3 separate regions of the Homo sapiens genome follow, and all the other regions are linked to region 1. Evidence: promoter capture Hi-C in 16 types of primary human blood cells and fetal thymus (Javierre and others, 2016). All regions are on one chromosome and are shown on one strand. The core of a region is centred on a gene start or on the middle of the fragment in contact, and the rest is flanking DNA. Distances in the headings are between cores, read along the strand shown. Region 1 holds the start of C2CD5 (C2 calcium dependent domain containing 5). Region 2 overlaps KCNJ8-AS1 (KCNJ8 antisense RNA 1). Region 3 overlaps KCNJ8-AS1 (KCNJ8 antisense RNA 1).

Region 1 (4,762 bases), core at 1,292-3,791:
CCAGCAAAATCCACCTAGTTATCAAGGCCTGACTATTTTAACCTAAGAAATGTCCCACAAATCTTTCTGTTCAAATCCATTCCTATTCCCATTCCCACATATTACCTGGATAATTTTACCACCTTCTTAACTGATCTCCCTGCCACACTTCCCATCTGTCTAGTCCATCAATAGCATCCCCATTCAGGCCATCCTATAAAGAAACAAACTAATACAAACATGATCTTATTTTATTTCTGCTTAAAAAACTCCCCTGGCCAGGCGTGGTGGCTCAGGCCCATAATCCCAGCACTTTGGGAGGCCGAAGCGGGAGAGGCAGGAGGATGGCTTGAGGCCAGGAGTTGGAGGCTGCAGTGACCTGCATTCAGCTTCCTTGTCGCTCCTTATAAATATTACAGAAAATGAGGTTTTATAGAAAATGGGGCTTTCCAGCCTCATCCCTAACAAGCTCCACTACCCACATATCTCATACCCTTTCCTCCAGACACGTACTAAACTAAGGCAGTTTCCTGAACATACTATATATCCCAGTCTATGCCTTTGCCTTTGATGTTCCCTTTGCCTGGTAAAATCCTGGGTGTCCTTCAAGGCCCACTTCAAATGTCACTTTCACAAGAAGCCTTTCTCAACCTTCAGAGACAGAATTCTTTCCATATTCTAATACAATACTCATCACTTTGGTGAGGCCGTATTAGCAGAGTGGTTAAGAGAACAAACTGTCAGGCTGTGGAGGTTTGCAAGCTATGTAACCTTAAGCAAATTATTTACCCTTCCTGGGCCTCAGTTACATCCACTGTAACATGGGACAATAACAATACTCCTATAGCAGGACTGTTGTGAAAACTAAGAATTTAAAAGTACTTAGTACAGATCTGGCAATTATTAAATTCAACACGTTACCTATTAGTTATTAAATAGGCTGTGTGGGTCAATGTCTGAACTACCGGAAAGCAAACACTATGTTTTAGTTATTTGTGGATTCCTATCACCTAACATCTGGCACAAGAGCACTCAAGAACTTTCTCAAATGAAGTGATTAAGAATCACCATGACAATGGGCAGGGGAGGCAGTGAACTGTAATTATTCGGTTAGAGAACATTTAGGAAACATCAGGAATATTGAGATGAAATCGAGCTATATATTATGATATATCTATCCATCAATTCTAAGCACTAATAGCCCAAATGATTGCTGCTCTAATGCTCTGGCTCATCACGCCAATTTTTATTACAATCTTTACTTGGCTTCTTTCAGACTCTGGGTTATTACCTTCCGGCCGTAGGCCTTTACTAATTTGCATGACTTTTAAACTAATCATTAGACTTAAAAAGCAATTTTGCAATTTAAGTCCATGGCAATTAAATGACTTCCTACCTCAAGGCGCTAAATTACCCTGAAACACCTCATCAGACCTACCAGCCTATACAAGAGCAGGAAGTGTTGCAGTTGTGTTTTAGAACGTGCATGGCAGATTCACAAAATGTTAGGCATGAGAGTGGATTTCCTCGCACTGTGGGACTCCAAGTGCCCATAAAGGGCTTCATGCACCTTCTTAAACATGATGTCCAGCACTCTGGCCACCCCTTCCAAGGGTGTGTGTGTGCCTGTGTGTGTGTGTGTTTCAGTGGCTGCGGGGCCACACCTTGGGATCTCCTGAGTGGCAGGTGGCCTGTTAATGAGTCCTGACATCAGAGTCATTCCGGCATTTGTGTGTGTGTGTGTGTATGTGTGTGAGTGTGTCGGTGGCTGCGCGGCCACGCCTTGGGATCTCCTGAGTGGCAGGTGGCCTGTTAATGAGTCCTGACATCAGGGTCACCCCCGCATGCACAACAGTACAAGCCTCCCCGCGCAGCGGACTGTGCCGCGGACGCCTGCAAGCCGTGCACCCATCGCACACACTGAGGTCTCGGCGGTCATCCCTCGTGGGAGAGCTGGACAACCACGGCCGAAGGGAGGGCAGTCGAGGGGGGAATAGGCTGAGGGGCTGGGGGCGAGGTGGGTAGATCCTTCACAGGGCTTGGCGCTCCCTGTGTTTTGAGGGGCAGGACCCTGCACCAACCTCCACGAAGGCATCAGTCAGGTCACTAGCACGGTCCATCACTGGCAAATGGCGCCCGGCCACGATTTTCACCTTCAGCTTCCCTGGCATGGTCTCGGTTTCGGCCTCTTCTTGGGCTCCTGCAGAAACAAACAAACGAGTCTGCGCCGAGCGCGGGGCCGGCGGGAGAGGGGCGGAGGCGCGCGGGGTAACTGACAGCGAAGGAGCGCGCGGGGGCGCGCGCGGGCGCCCGGCAGTCGCGCCACGGGTCGCCACTCACTGTCGCAGGAGGAAGGGTGCTGTCCCGCGCGGGTGCTGAGACCTCATTCCGGAGAGGCGGCGGGAGGAAGGGCTTTGATGGGTTCTTCCGTCCCGGCCCCACAAGGCTGGGACGAAAAGCAAAACCCAGTCAGCATCCCGTTGAGCCTCTGCCGCCCCTGCTTGTCTCTCCTCCCCCGCTCTCAAAAATGGCGGCTCTCGGGGCGCGGAAGAAAGCATCGATCGTTCGGCGCTCTGCCCACTTGGCGGGGCGAAACTAAACTCGCCGAGGAAAGATAAGGGGGCGGGGCTGACGTTGAGAAAGCTGGAGGGCAGGGAAATGGGCCGAGTCCTGCATCATCCACCGAGTGGGGGCTGTGGATAGGTGCGGCGCTGCTTCCCTGGAGGGAAACGCTCCATCTTGCGGGCCGAAGCGCGAGTGCTGCTCTGTGACAGCCTCCGGCCGCGGCCTTCCCAGCTGCTACCGCCGCTTTTCGGATGGGCTGTGATAGATGGAGTAGCAGCGAAGACTGCTAGAAGAGCGTTTTCAGTCGGCCTTTAGTGATTCGTAAAACCAAATTAGCTGGTTTCTACTTGGAAGGGGTACAGGTGCGTGTGGTGGTTCCAGTTTTCTGTGAAATAGAGTTAGATGGCCAGGCACAGTGGCTCACGTCTGTAATCCCAGCACTTTGGGTGGCCGAGGCGGGCGGATCACCTGAGGTCAGGAGTTCAAGACCAGCCTGGACAACATGGCGAAACCCCGTCTCTACTAAAAATACAAAAATTAGCTGGGCGTCGTGGCGAGCGCCTCTAATTCCAGCTACTCAGGAGGCTGAGGCAGGAAAATCGCTTGAACCTGCGAGGCGGAGGTTGCAGTGAGCCGAGATCACTCCTCTGTCTCCAAAAAAAGAAAAAAAAGAAAGAAAGAAATAGAGATACCAGGCACATCTCGAATAGTGAAATAAATATTTAGTGAAATATTTTATTCAGTCATAGGCACTTGTGTTGTGCACTGGGTCACAGATATTACTGTGGGCGGGGTGGGGGAGGTCACCTTGAAATCCAAAGTCTCCTCTTGAAAAAAAGTTTCTGCTGGTAGGTGTGGTGGCTCAGATTTGTAATCCCAGCACTGTGGGAGGCTGAGGTGGGAGGATCGATTGAGTCCAGGAGTTCGAGACCAGCCTCATGGAGACGAGGCAACACAGTAAGACCCCTTCTTTACAAGAAATGCAAAAATTAGCTGGGCCGGTGGCTCGTCTGTGGTCTCAGCTACCTAGGAAGCTGAGGTGGGAGAATCTGGGAGAATTGCTTGAGCCCAGGAGTTTGAGGCTGCAGTGAGCTGCCATCTCACCACTGCACCCCAACCTGGGCAACAGAGCAAAACTCTGTCTCTTAAAAAAAATTTTTTTTTAATTAAATGTCCTGCACTCTTAGATCATCTCAGTGTTCTTATTAAGCATCCACAAGCCTAAAGATAAGACCTACAGTAGTAGCAGAAGTTCAGGACTTCCTACCATGGAAAGTATAGTCAACCACAAGAAATAAACATGGAGAGCGTTAAACATCTTGAAGAATTGACCCAACTATAAATAAAGTAAGGTGTTATCTACAGGCTCAGACCATATTAGGGAAATTGAGGCACACACAAGATGTAAATAAATCAGTCCTTACCAAATATCAAAATCAGCATTGACAGTATACCCAGTATCAACAAAATCAGAGTTCATGCCGGCTCAAAGATTGTAACATTTCATTCCTAAGTGAAGATATCCGTATGATCTTTTTAACTTCGAAAATACTCAATAGAGTAAATACTCCAAACAGTAGTGATCCCGAATTATCTTTTCATGACAAAAATTCCTTCTATGGCAGGAATATTGTTCACATAAGTGAGAAATTGAACTCCTACAGAGAAAACGACTTCCTCAAAATAAAAATCTAAAAAAATCGCTTGCTTTTTGGACTAGAGAAACTTTTATCAATTCAAACTATGTCAAAGGAATAGGGGTCATAGATCCCATGCGAATTTCCTTAGGTCCACCTGCAGCTTTTTCTGGAGTCTGACTCTGCCCTTAAAATACCCTTGCCAGAATTCTGAAGGTTGGCTACACTATGTGATCAACGTTTTTTATTTATTTATTTATTTAGAGACAGGGACTCACTCTGTGTCCCACACTGGAGTGCAGTGACATGATCATAGCTCACTACAGCCTCAATCTTCTGGGCCAAGCGATCCTCCCACCTCAGCCCCCCAAGTTCCTGGGACTACAAGCACATACCACCATGCACCGCTAGTTTTTTAAATTTTTTGAAGAGATGGAGTCTCCCTGTATTGCCCAGGCTGGTCTCAATCCTGGTTTAAGCCATCCTCCTGCCTTGACCTCACAAAGTGGTGGGATTACAGGCATGAGCCATCTTGCCCGGCATGATCAGTGTTTTTTGTTGTTTTGGGTGGTAGAGTTGAA
Region 2 (4,762 bases), core at 1,395-3,894, 860 kb before region 1:
AGGCGGAGCTTGCAGTGAGCTGAGATTGCGCCACTGCACTCCCGCCTGGGCCACAGAGCGAGACTCCGTCTCAAAAAAAAAAAAAAAAAGACTTTTGACACCCAATCTCTCTTTGCAGCAATAGCTGCCAAAGTTGTGACTACCAGTAATGTTCTTAAATACTGCCACCTGCTGGAAGTTCTCTAGAAATACTGTGCACAATGTTAAATGAGTGCTTCCAACATTTTCTATTTCAGTCCGAACGTATTCATCTCTATTCTTTCCGTGAAATCATTCACAGCTAGAGACAAAGGGAACTGGAAAATGTAGCAGCAGTGCTGAAAATTTGTATTTTTCTGTTAATTTATGATTTTTTATTGATTTTCATAAGCTTAAAATTGTTGTTTTGCTTATCTTCTCATTAGACGTCGAGTTACTAAGAAGATAAGTTTAAGACTGAGACATATAGTTCAACCAAGACTCCACTACTTGCTAACTTTGTAGTTTTAGGTAAATTGCTTAAACCTTCTAAGCCTCAGTTAACTCTTTTATAAACTGGAAAATTCTGAAGATTAGCGTTACTAAATGTAAAACACTAGTACCTAGTATGCATTTAATTACGGTTGTTTATGGAAACTATGATAATAAAGACAATAGTTTGGAGATTTGAAACGGCTCTTATTGGGGGAGGCATTTGGGATCTTAATCCAAGTCTTTTGTGTGGTGGTGGTGGTGGTATAGCTTCTGCAAGGCCAATGTGCAAGCTCTGATGCTCCCATTGTGGGAGCCTTGGTTAGGGATCACCAGGGAAAAAGTACTGAAGAGATAGCTATGAAGCAGTTATGATGTGCAAGAAGCATTTTGCTAGTACTCTTAGAGAACTTAGCATTGGCATCTTCCCTTGGAGCCACATACCCAGGAAACATTTGCTTAGGGCAAAATGAGGACTTTCCTTCACTCTATGCCCTGAGAGCACTCAACTTCCAACATGAGGGAAAATTGTGTTTTATGTTTCCTGTGTATGCAAGGAAATGATTAGGTGATATCTTTAAACACCAACTCCTATCCCTCCTCCCAATCTCAATGACAAAAAACAAACAAATCAGGCCAGGCATGGTCGGTGGTTCACACCTAAATCCCAGCACTTTGGGAGGCCAAGGTGGGCAAATCACTTGAAGTCAGGGGTTTAAGATCAACCTGGCCACCATGGTGAAACCCCTTCTCTACTAAAAATACAAAAATTAGCTGGGCATAGTGGCATACGTCTTTAGTCCCTGCTACTTGGGAGGCCTGAGGCAGGAGAATTGCTTGAACCTGGGAGGCAGAGGTTTCAGTGAGCCGAGATCATACCACTGCACTCCAGTCCGGACGACAGAGTGAAACCCCGTCTCAAAAAAAAAAAAAAAAAATTAGCCAGGTGTGGTGGCGGGTGCCTGTAATCCCAGCTACCTGGGAGGCTGAGACAGGAGAATCGCTTGAATTGGGGAGGCGGAGGTTGTAGTGAGTTGAGCCACTGTACTCCAGCCTGGGTGACAGAGTAAGTGAGACTTTATCTCAAAAAACAAAAATAATAAATAAATAAAAATGTTTATTCATGTTCCTTATATATGGCCTTTTGAGTTTCTACAAGGTGATATCTACTTTATCAACAAACTGAATGTCCTTTAAGCCCTTTGATTTCAGTTTTATAAGATAGTTGTCTTCAAGTTCTTGTTAGTTTTGCGCAATCTAGACCTCATACCACCTATGGTTAACTGACCAAAGGCACTATTTGTGAAGATCTGTCTGAAGCAGGTACAGGCACAAAAACAAGGCCAAAGCTGAGAGTAGAAAAAAATCACAATTCAACATTAAAGTGCTGGGGCATTTGAGGAACGAAAGTCTTTGTTGGCACATTGCTTTCACACTTACCTGGGATATTCTGCTCCCAGATATGTTCTGGGAACCTCAGGAGTATTTGACTAGCCTGACCCATGCTTGGTCATCAATTCTGGATGAAAAGTATCTACTCATAATCTGAGCATTTAATGGTTCTTGGATATTGTATCTTTTTTTGTTAAGTGGGGCTGTTTTTTCCTGTTTCTTTAATTTTGATACCAGTTTTCACAGACAAAAAGCTGCTCATTTTCTAGGAGCTAACTTACTTTTAATGGCTTAATTTATATTTATGGAATAAAGCAGACAACTGAACTTATTCTTTGATACTGTCATTTTTTTTTCATAATATAAATTGCCCTTCAGCCTAGACAAAACAGCTGAAGCCAATCTTGAGTTACCTATCTTGGGATTAAAGTGACTATAGTAGTGGTGGTAAAGCAGACAAGTTTCATCTAGCTCTTTTGTCCTGTTTTGAGTACTAAATTTTTGAAGGTTTTAGTTATTTTCATTGCCATATATCATAAATTCTGCAGAGTAAAGAATTCTGGCCATTGGAGAACATTGTTTTACATCCTTAATTACTGTACATTAATCTCTTATGGACTCAGTCAACTTTAAACTCTACTTCACAGGGATTGTTAGAAGAGGCAGCTAAGAAAGGTGAGCCTAGAAAAATCCTTTGTCTGGCCTCTCAGTAAATAGGTCTGGAGAACTGACTTACTGATAGAGAAAGAAGGGATACTCTACCTGTCCTCAGAATCCATTCCTCTTTTGCCCAGTAGTGTATTCTCTGTGTCTAGTACAGGGCTTGGAAAACAATGTATTTTCAAATAATGTGTTTGTTTGAATAAATGAGATGAATGGTATTAACAGCCCTCTGCCTTTTAAAAAGCAGCAAAATAGTGACCACCATTGATTTCTGAATCTCCAGATCTCATCACTGGAAAGTTCTCTGACCTATTTCTAGCAGAGAAAATGATTTTCTTGCTCATCATTTTTGGGAGTGCTCTTCTCTTGCCATGCCAGGCATATTCCTCTTCCCAATCAGTCAGAGATCACATGTGGAGCTATTCTTGGATTTTGAAACCATCGGCCCTTGCCAAGGTGTGTGGAATGGCTGCAAAATTATATAACTCTGTATGCATCCACCTTTCTGTTGCAATGTGCCCTTCGTCTCACTCTCTTTAAGGACGGATCTTTATGGCTGGCCCTGAACACAAAAGTAAAATTTGTTTTGTGTTCCTATAAATGAATCTTTGGGGATTAAAGAATCTAGTTTGCAGTCATTTTCTTCTCTGTTTCCTATTCTTATTTTTGTTTTGTTTTGTTGTTCTTTTGTACTTCACTTAAGTTCTCTTGATTCTTCACTCTTAAGTAACTCAGATGTCCCCACTTTTTTTTTTTTTTTTTTTTTTTTTTTTGAGATGCTCTGTCACCCAGGCTGGAGTGCAGTGGCACAATCTTGGCTCACTGCAACCACTGCCTGCTGGGTTCAAGCAATTCTCCTGCCTTAGCCTCCCAACTAGCTGGGACTACAGGCGTGTACCACAATGCCAGCCTAATTTTTTGTATTTTTAGTAGAGATGGGGTTTCACCATGCTGGCCAGGCTGGTTTTGAACTCCTGACTTCATGATCAGCCTGCCTTGGCCTCCCAAAGTGCTGGGATTACAGGCATAAGCCACTGCACCTGGCCCAGTGTCCCCACTTTTTAGTCTCTGTTTCTAAAGCCAGCCTCCCTCTTCAGTCTACTTCAGATCAGTTGCCTTGCAATAAGAACCATCAAGGAAGACAGTGCCTTTAGAAGACTTCTGAAATTGTATTGATAGCCATTTCATTCCATTCTTATTTCCACATCAAATTAAATAAGAAACAACTATTACTCCCCTATCATCTAGTGCACCTTAGCTCAAAGGCATCACAGAACCTACATTTGCTAAAAACTTCTAACTTGAGGCTTGCTAATGCTGGTCTCTGGGGTCACACAGATGATGCAAAACCCAGTCAGTCAGGATGGGATTGAGGAGATTATTCTCCATTGAAGTCCACCCAGGTGGTCAACTGCAGATTTAGGTTGGGTTTGGAGTGGAAGGTCTTCACAGAATGGAGTGCCTTAACAAGCTAAGGATATTAGAATTAATTGAAAAGTGGCAAATAATTACTGCCTCCTTTCACTTCTTGTATCTTTGTTTGATGTCTTTCAAAATTTTTGGAAAATTCTGTTATTATTTCTTTACATATTTCTCTAGACAAAGAGCTTGGCATATTCATAGAACAGAAAGGCTGTCAAAGTCACTGGTACAGAATGAGCAAGGGAAGAGTGATGAGATGAGGAGGGTGGGCATGGACCAGGTTATACAGGTCCTTGTAGGCTAATAGTAAAGATTTCAATGTTATTTGTCCTTTTTATTATGGAAATTTTCAAATGTACACCAAAATAGAGTTATGTAACTACTTCCAATATATACATCACCAGTTCCAGTTACCTTTTTCCTTTCTGCCTTTATTTACTTTCCTCCAACATACTAGGTCATTTAATAGCAAAATAAAGACATAGTTTTATTTGTAAATATGTTAGTATCATTGAAAGATAGGAATTCTTTTTTTTTTGACGGAGTCTCACTCTGTTTCCCAGTGCCCAGGCTGGAGTGCAGTGGAACCATCTTGCGGCTCACTGTAAACCCCACCTCTTGGGTTCAAACGAGTCTCCTGCCTCAGCTCCCAAGTAGCTGGGATTACAGGCATATACCACCACACCCGGTTAATTTTTGTATTTTCAGCAGAGATAGGGTTTCACCATGTTGCCCAGGCTGGTCTTGAACTCCTGAGCTCAAGCTGTCTGCCTGCCTCAGACTCCCAAAGTGCTGGGATTACAGGTGTGAGCCACCGCGCCTGACTAGGAATTCT
Region 3 (4,762 bases), core at 801-3,300, 840 kb before region 1:
TAAATACTTAGTTCTCTTGAAATAACAACTGTGAAGGAGGAGTGCCATGGGGAGGTGAAACGGATGCAATGATCATTTAACTTTTTCTATGGTTCTTGGGCCTGAAAAGTAGGAACACCTCTATGTTCCTGGAAATTGAGAAAAAAAAAATGTGAATCAGAAGAGATCATATATTCCGTATTGCGACTACTCTGAGTCATATCAGTAACACAAACATTTGATAATCATTTCTTAATTAAACTTCTGAACATTTTTTGACATTTTATAAAACAATGCTTTTCCCAAACTAATTCTATTTTGAGCTATCAGAATGTATATCCTGTTTTCTTGCATTTTCACCACCAGATGGCAGTGATAACCTATTCATTCATTTCTTTCTCTTTTTTTTTTTTTTTTAATCGTTCTCTTGTTTAATGTTATTCTAGAAATGAACCAGTAGCTCTAAATTAAAAGTGATGGCCAAAAATTCCCACTTTATTTTCTACGACAAGTCAGCATGCTAGAGTCACAGTTCCCTTGTGCAAAGAAGTGAACAAAACGTGCATGGAGGGAAGCACAGGAAATATCGTGATTTTGTGTGAGAGCTGGAATGCCACTAAGTAATAAATGACTCTGGTAAATTGTAAAAGACTACCTTGGGTTGTGTATATTAAAAGTATATAAATTTCCGTGTGTGTTTGTGTCAGAGAGAGAGAGGTCTTTGGGTTTGGGGTAGAGGTTGTATAAATGTGACTTCAAAATGTCGCCTGTCATAGGCTACCCTTGTCACATTCTAGGGTTAACCCTGTTAAGGGTGAAAAAGTGAAGTTATCAAAAAATGAAGTGGGCCCTTACACAGCACAGATGTACATGACCTCGGTCTTTACTCCACTTAATCACCACTTCCTTACTCAGTTTGTCTTAATATTGCTTATTTCATTTTTCAGATATTTTCTGCAAGAATAGTTTTCTTGTTTAACTATCCTGGATTTACAAATACATGTTTCAGCTTGGAAAACAAAATTTTTTGTTTAACTTTTTGTATTTCGTAGCAATAGCAATGAAAATCTTCTAAAGATTGGGGGAAAAACCTATAATTTTTTTGGACACACTTCTTTAAACTTTGCTTGATGAGGCTGTTTTTAAATGAAACATTCACATGCAAAATTCAAGAGACCGGGAAAAATAGTCTGAAATTGATAAAGTTGTTTGTCCATTGTATTTTTAGTCAGGATTATCTGGACCATTTTTTAACATCTTGGAGTCGTCAGTTGATCTGGTTTTAGTTTCAGCTGAAAAGGACAATTTTCTGTTCTCCTTCAGTTAACCAAGACGTGGTCACAGACCAGGCAACACAGGTTTTGTCAGTGAGATACCATGGAAAGGAAAAGAGGCCTTATAATTATAATCAATAGGTCTGGGTTTGATGGTGTACTTTCAAAGACCACACATATGGCTGTGGGCATGTTTTTATCATGATCTATAAAATGGGGATAATAACGCCTATATGGGGTTCATTGAGATAAAGTCTATGATCTTTTGGCATGCACGCAATAGTCAATAGAGAGTTTTCTTTCTCTCTCAGTTTACCCCCTGGATAAAAGTAGGTTGATTCTGGCTTAAGTTACAAAGAGGAAAAGCTGTGTCTTCCACATTTGTTTCTTCCAGAAGTTTACTCCATAACCATCCACTTCCATGCCTTTCTTTGGTCTGGAATTTTCCTGATGATAAGCTAATGGGGAAAATAATTTTTTATTCTTATGCTTTTTGCAGCCTTTTAAAACACATAATATGCATCTAGAAGTTAAGCTTCTTTACTTAATTGAATAAGAAACAACATTACAAATGAATGCAACATAGTGAAGATTAAATAAGGTAATTAACAGGTCGGTGCTTTGAAACGTTTATTCTGTTATAGGATTGGAAGGATGTAAGAGCATGCTTTAATATAGAAGGTTTCTAAAAGCCTATGTCTTAAAGGGGCCTCTAAGATCCATCTCCACTAAAGAGCTTCCAACTCTGATATATATTTCTGATATATATTTCTGAGCAGATATGGTAATTGGCCTTTATGTTCTGGAATGACACAGATTTCCAAAGGCAGGCAACATTCAGTCTTTCCTACAGTTTCGGCATTGACTGATTGATATTTTATTTTCAAATAGCTTTATACTTTATTTTTGAAATAGAGGATAATGTTCCTATGGAATCTTGGCATCCTGAAGGAATAACTTGTGTTTTAAAAATTTGCTTGGGGACATTGTGGTGTTTAGGAACTCAAAAACCACATGGCACTTTGACAAACCTGTGCAATCAAACCATATTTGTTCAATGAAAGCTTTGGGTTGCCTTATTCTAGAATGTTGAATGCTCAATAGCTTCCTGACTTTGATGTGGTGAAGTTGGAGAATTTTTCATGTGGGGAGTAGTAATCACTTTCTATCTTGCAATGGTGGTACAGGAATTTGTTTTTATGGGAGATGTTCCCTTTCATCCAGGAGTTTCCCAATGCTAATGTTGGATGAGAAGCTCTGAAATCCAGTGAAGGAACCAAAATGCAGTACAGTTCTTCCCTAGTAGCTAAAGGGGGTTGGTTCCAGTACCCTCCACCCCTTGTGGATAACAAAATCTGTGGATGCTCAAGTCCCTTATACAAAATGGCATAGTATTTGCATACAACTGTGCACATCCTCTTGTATATTTTAAATCATCTCTAGATTACTTATAATACTTAATATCATGTAAATGATGTATACATAGTTGTTATACTATGTTGTTTTAAAAATTTGTATTATTTTATTATTGTATTGTTATTTTTTATATTTTTGTCCACAATATTTTCAATCTGAGGTTGGTTGAATCTGAGACATTGGAACCCATGGCTATGGAGGATTGACTGTACCTTCAGACTGAAGCATTAAGTGTACTATTTAGTAATAGTAATTGTATCTATTGGCTGAACTTTGTTTCTGCAAAGTTAGAAATCCTCCCTACCCCATATTTTGATTTATGTAGCCTAAGGCCTCTTTGTTTTAGATAGGTGTGTAGATGCTTCCCTCCCCCAAGAATTTATTCACAGGAGATGGGAAGCTGAGACTCTGTTATCACTGACGGATGCAAAGACTGTTCATCATTTTATGAGGGAAGCCAGAGAAATGAGATGGACTGGGCTTAGTGGAAAAGAACCTTAACATTTGTCCTTCGCAAGGAGTTACGTGCAATTGACATTTGTGATTGTCTTGTCGGGAGCATGTAGCCAGAGACTCCTGTGGGAAGAGATGCGCAAGAGAGAAAATATTGATAGATATGAATGTAGACACACATATACATATACCATAGGCATATCTGTATGTACATACAAAATAGTTTATCAGATCTTACTGATATATTTCCAATTAAAATTAGGGAAAGAGATGTGTGTGTCAGGGATTGTTTTTACTTTAACTACAACTACTTTCTTCTGTATCAAGAATCTTGGTTCCCATGAATGCAGGAGATAATAAAATTAGAATTTCCCGTAATTATTACTTTATCCCATGTTATAAACAGAATAGTCTTAAAATAACCATACCAAAATCTCCACCATGAAAAATTACTGAGAATTGTTCAAATATATTTTGCATATTCTACACATTATGTCAATTTTTTATAACTTCACTACTTTGCTTAAATATAAAACCATTATATATTATACTCTCTTCCTTTAATCTTCACTTCATCTGGCTCTACAAGTAACTATATGTTTAATACTCCTCTTCAGTCCTCATACCGATAATTTTCTATTCATTTTGGTTGTCTAAAGTACCTACCATAGTAGATTCCTAAGGAGGAAAATAGAAACAACATTCCTTCAGTTTTTGCATGCTGATAAAAATTCATGTGTGCCCTTTATACTTGAAGGTAAATTTTGTTGGACATAAAATCCACGGCATACATACATATGTATGTATCTTCAAGTTTATTCTACTTTTTTCTGGGATAATACATTGCTGTCCAGAAGTCTGATGATAATATAATTTTCTTTCCCTTATGTCATTTTGTCTTTTTTGTACATTGATGTTTTGTGTGGACATAAACTGCACATGTTTAAAAGGTATGTGGTAGGCAGCATTCTACGATAGTCCCCCAAATTTCTACTCCTGAGAGTGTACACCCTGTATAATCCTCTCTGTTATGGACCGAATGTTTGTGGCCCTCCTGTTCCAATTCAAACATTGAAGCCCTAACCCCCAATGTGATAATATTTGGAGACAGAGCCTCTGGGAGATAATTAGGATTAGATTAGGTTATGAGGGTAGGGCCTTTATGCAATGCCACGATCTCGGCTCACCACAACCTCCGCCTCCTGGGTTAAGCGATTCTCCTGCCTCAGCCTCCCGAGTAGCTGGGATTACAGGCATGCAGCACCACACCTGGCTGATTTTTTTGTATTTTTAGTAGAGACGGGGTTTCTCCATGTTGGTCAGGCTAGTCTCGAACTCCCGACCTCAGGTGATCTGCATGCCCCAGCCTCCCAAAGTACTGGGATTACAGGCGTGAGCCACTGCACGCCTGTAAGGTGGGTTTTTGATGAAGTCAATTTCCATGTTGTGAGATGGCTACGTGACAAGAACCTGGGGGCAAGCTCTAGGAACTGGAGAATCCCTAGCCAGCAGCCAGCAAGATAATGGGGATCTTAGTCCTACAACCACAAGTCATTGAATTCTGAGACCCCTAAGTCTCAGATGTGATCACAGCCCTGGCTGACACCTTGATTTCAGTCTAGTGAGATCCCAAGTACAGG

Evidence for each region. The method cuts DNA at HindIII sites, captures the fragments that hold promoters and counts their contacts. A CHiCAGO score of 5 or more calls a contact.
Region 2: a fragment that was not itself captured here is called in contact with the fragment with the promoter of C2CD5 in region 1 in 1 of 17 cell types (non-activated CD4 T cells); the score reaches 5.4 in non-activated CD4 T cells.
Region 3: a contact is called between a fragment that was not itself captured here and the fragment with the promoter of C2CD5 in region 1, in 6 of 17 cell types (non-activated CD4 T cells, activated CD4 T cells, total CD4 T cells and 3 more). The highest score is 10.1, in non-activated CD4 T cells.

The regions. Positions count from the first base shown.
Region 1 is chr12:22,542,001-22,546,762 of GRCh38, forward strand. C2CD5 (C2 calcium dependent domain containing 5) reads right to left here and starts at 2,542. Exons shown (of 27, transcript NM_001286176.2): 1 at 2,320-2,542; 2 at 2,061-2,179. The coding sequence starts at 2,150. RefSeq lists enhancers at 783-1,302, 2,443-2,672 and a silencer at 2,183-2,302. The HindIII fragment of the contact is 7,848 bases long and covers 1-4,762 here.
Region 2 is chr12:21,680,385-21,685,146 of GRCh38, forward strand. The region is part of intron 1 of KCNJ8-AS1 (KCNJ8 antisense RNA 1); the gene reads left to right. Among named protein-coding and RNA genes, the nearest start is that of KCNJ8-AS1, 20 kb to the left of the region's middle. The HindIII fragment of the contact is 4,552 bases long and covers 369-4,762 here.
Region 3 is chr12:21,697,674-21,702,435 of GRCh38, forward strand. The region is part of intron 1 of KCNJ8-AS1 (KCNJ8 antisense RNA 1); the gene reads left to right. Among named protein-coding and RNA genes, the nearest start is that of KCNJ8-AS1, 38 kb to the left of the region's middle. The HindIII fragment of the contact is 529 bases long and covers 1,787-2,315 here.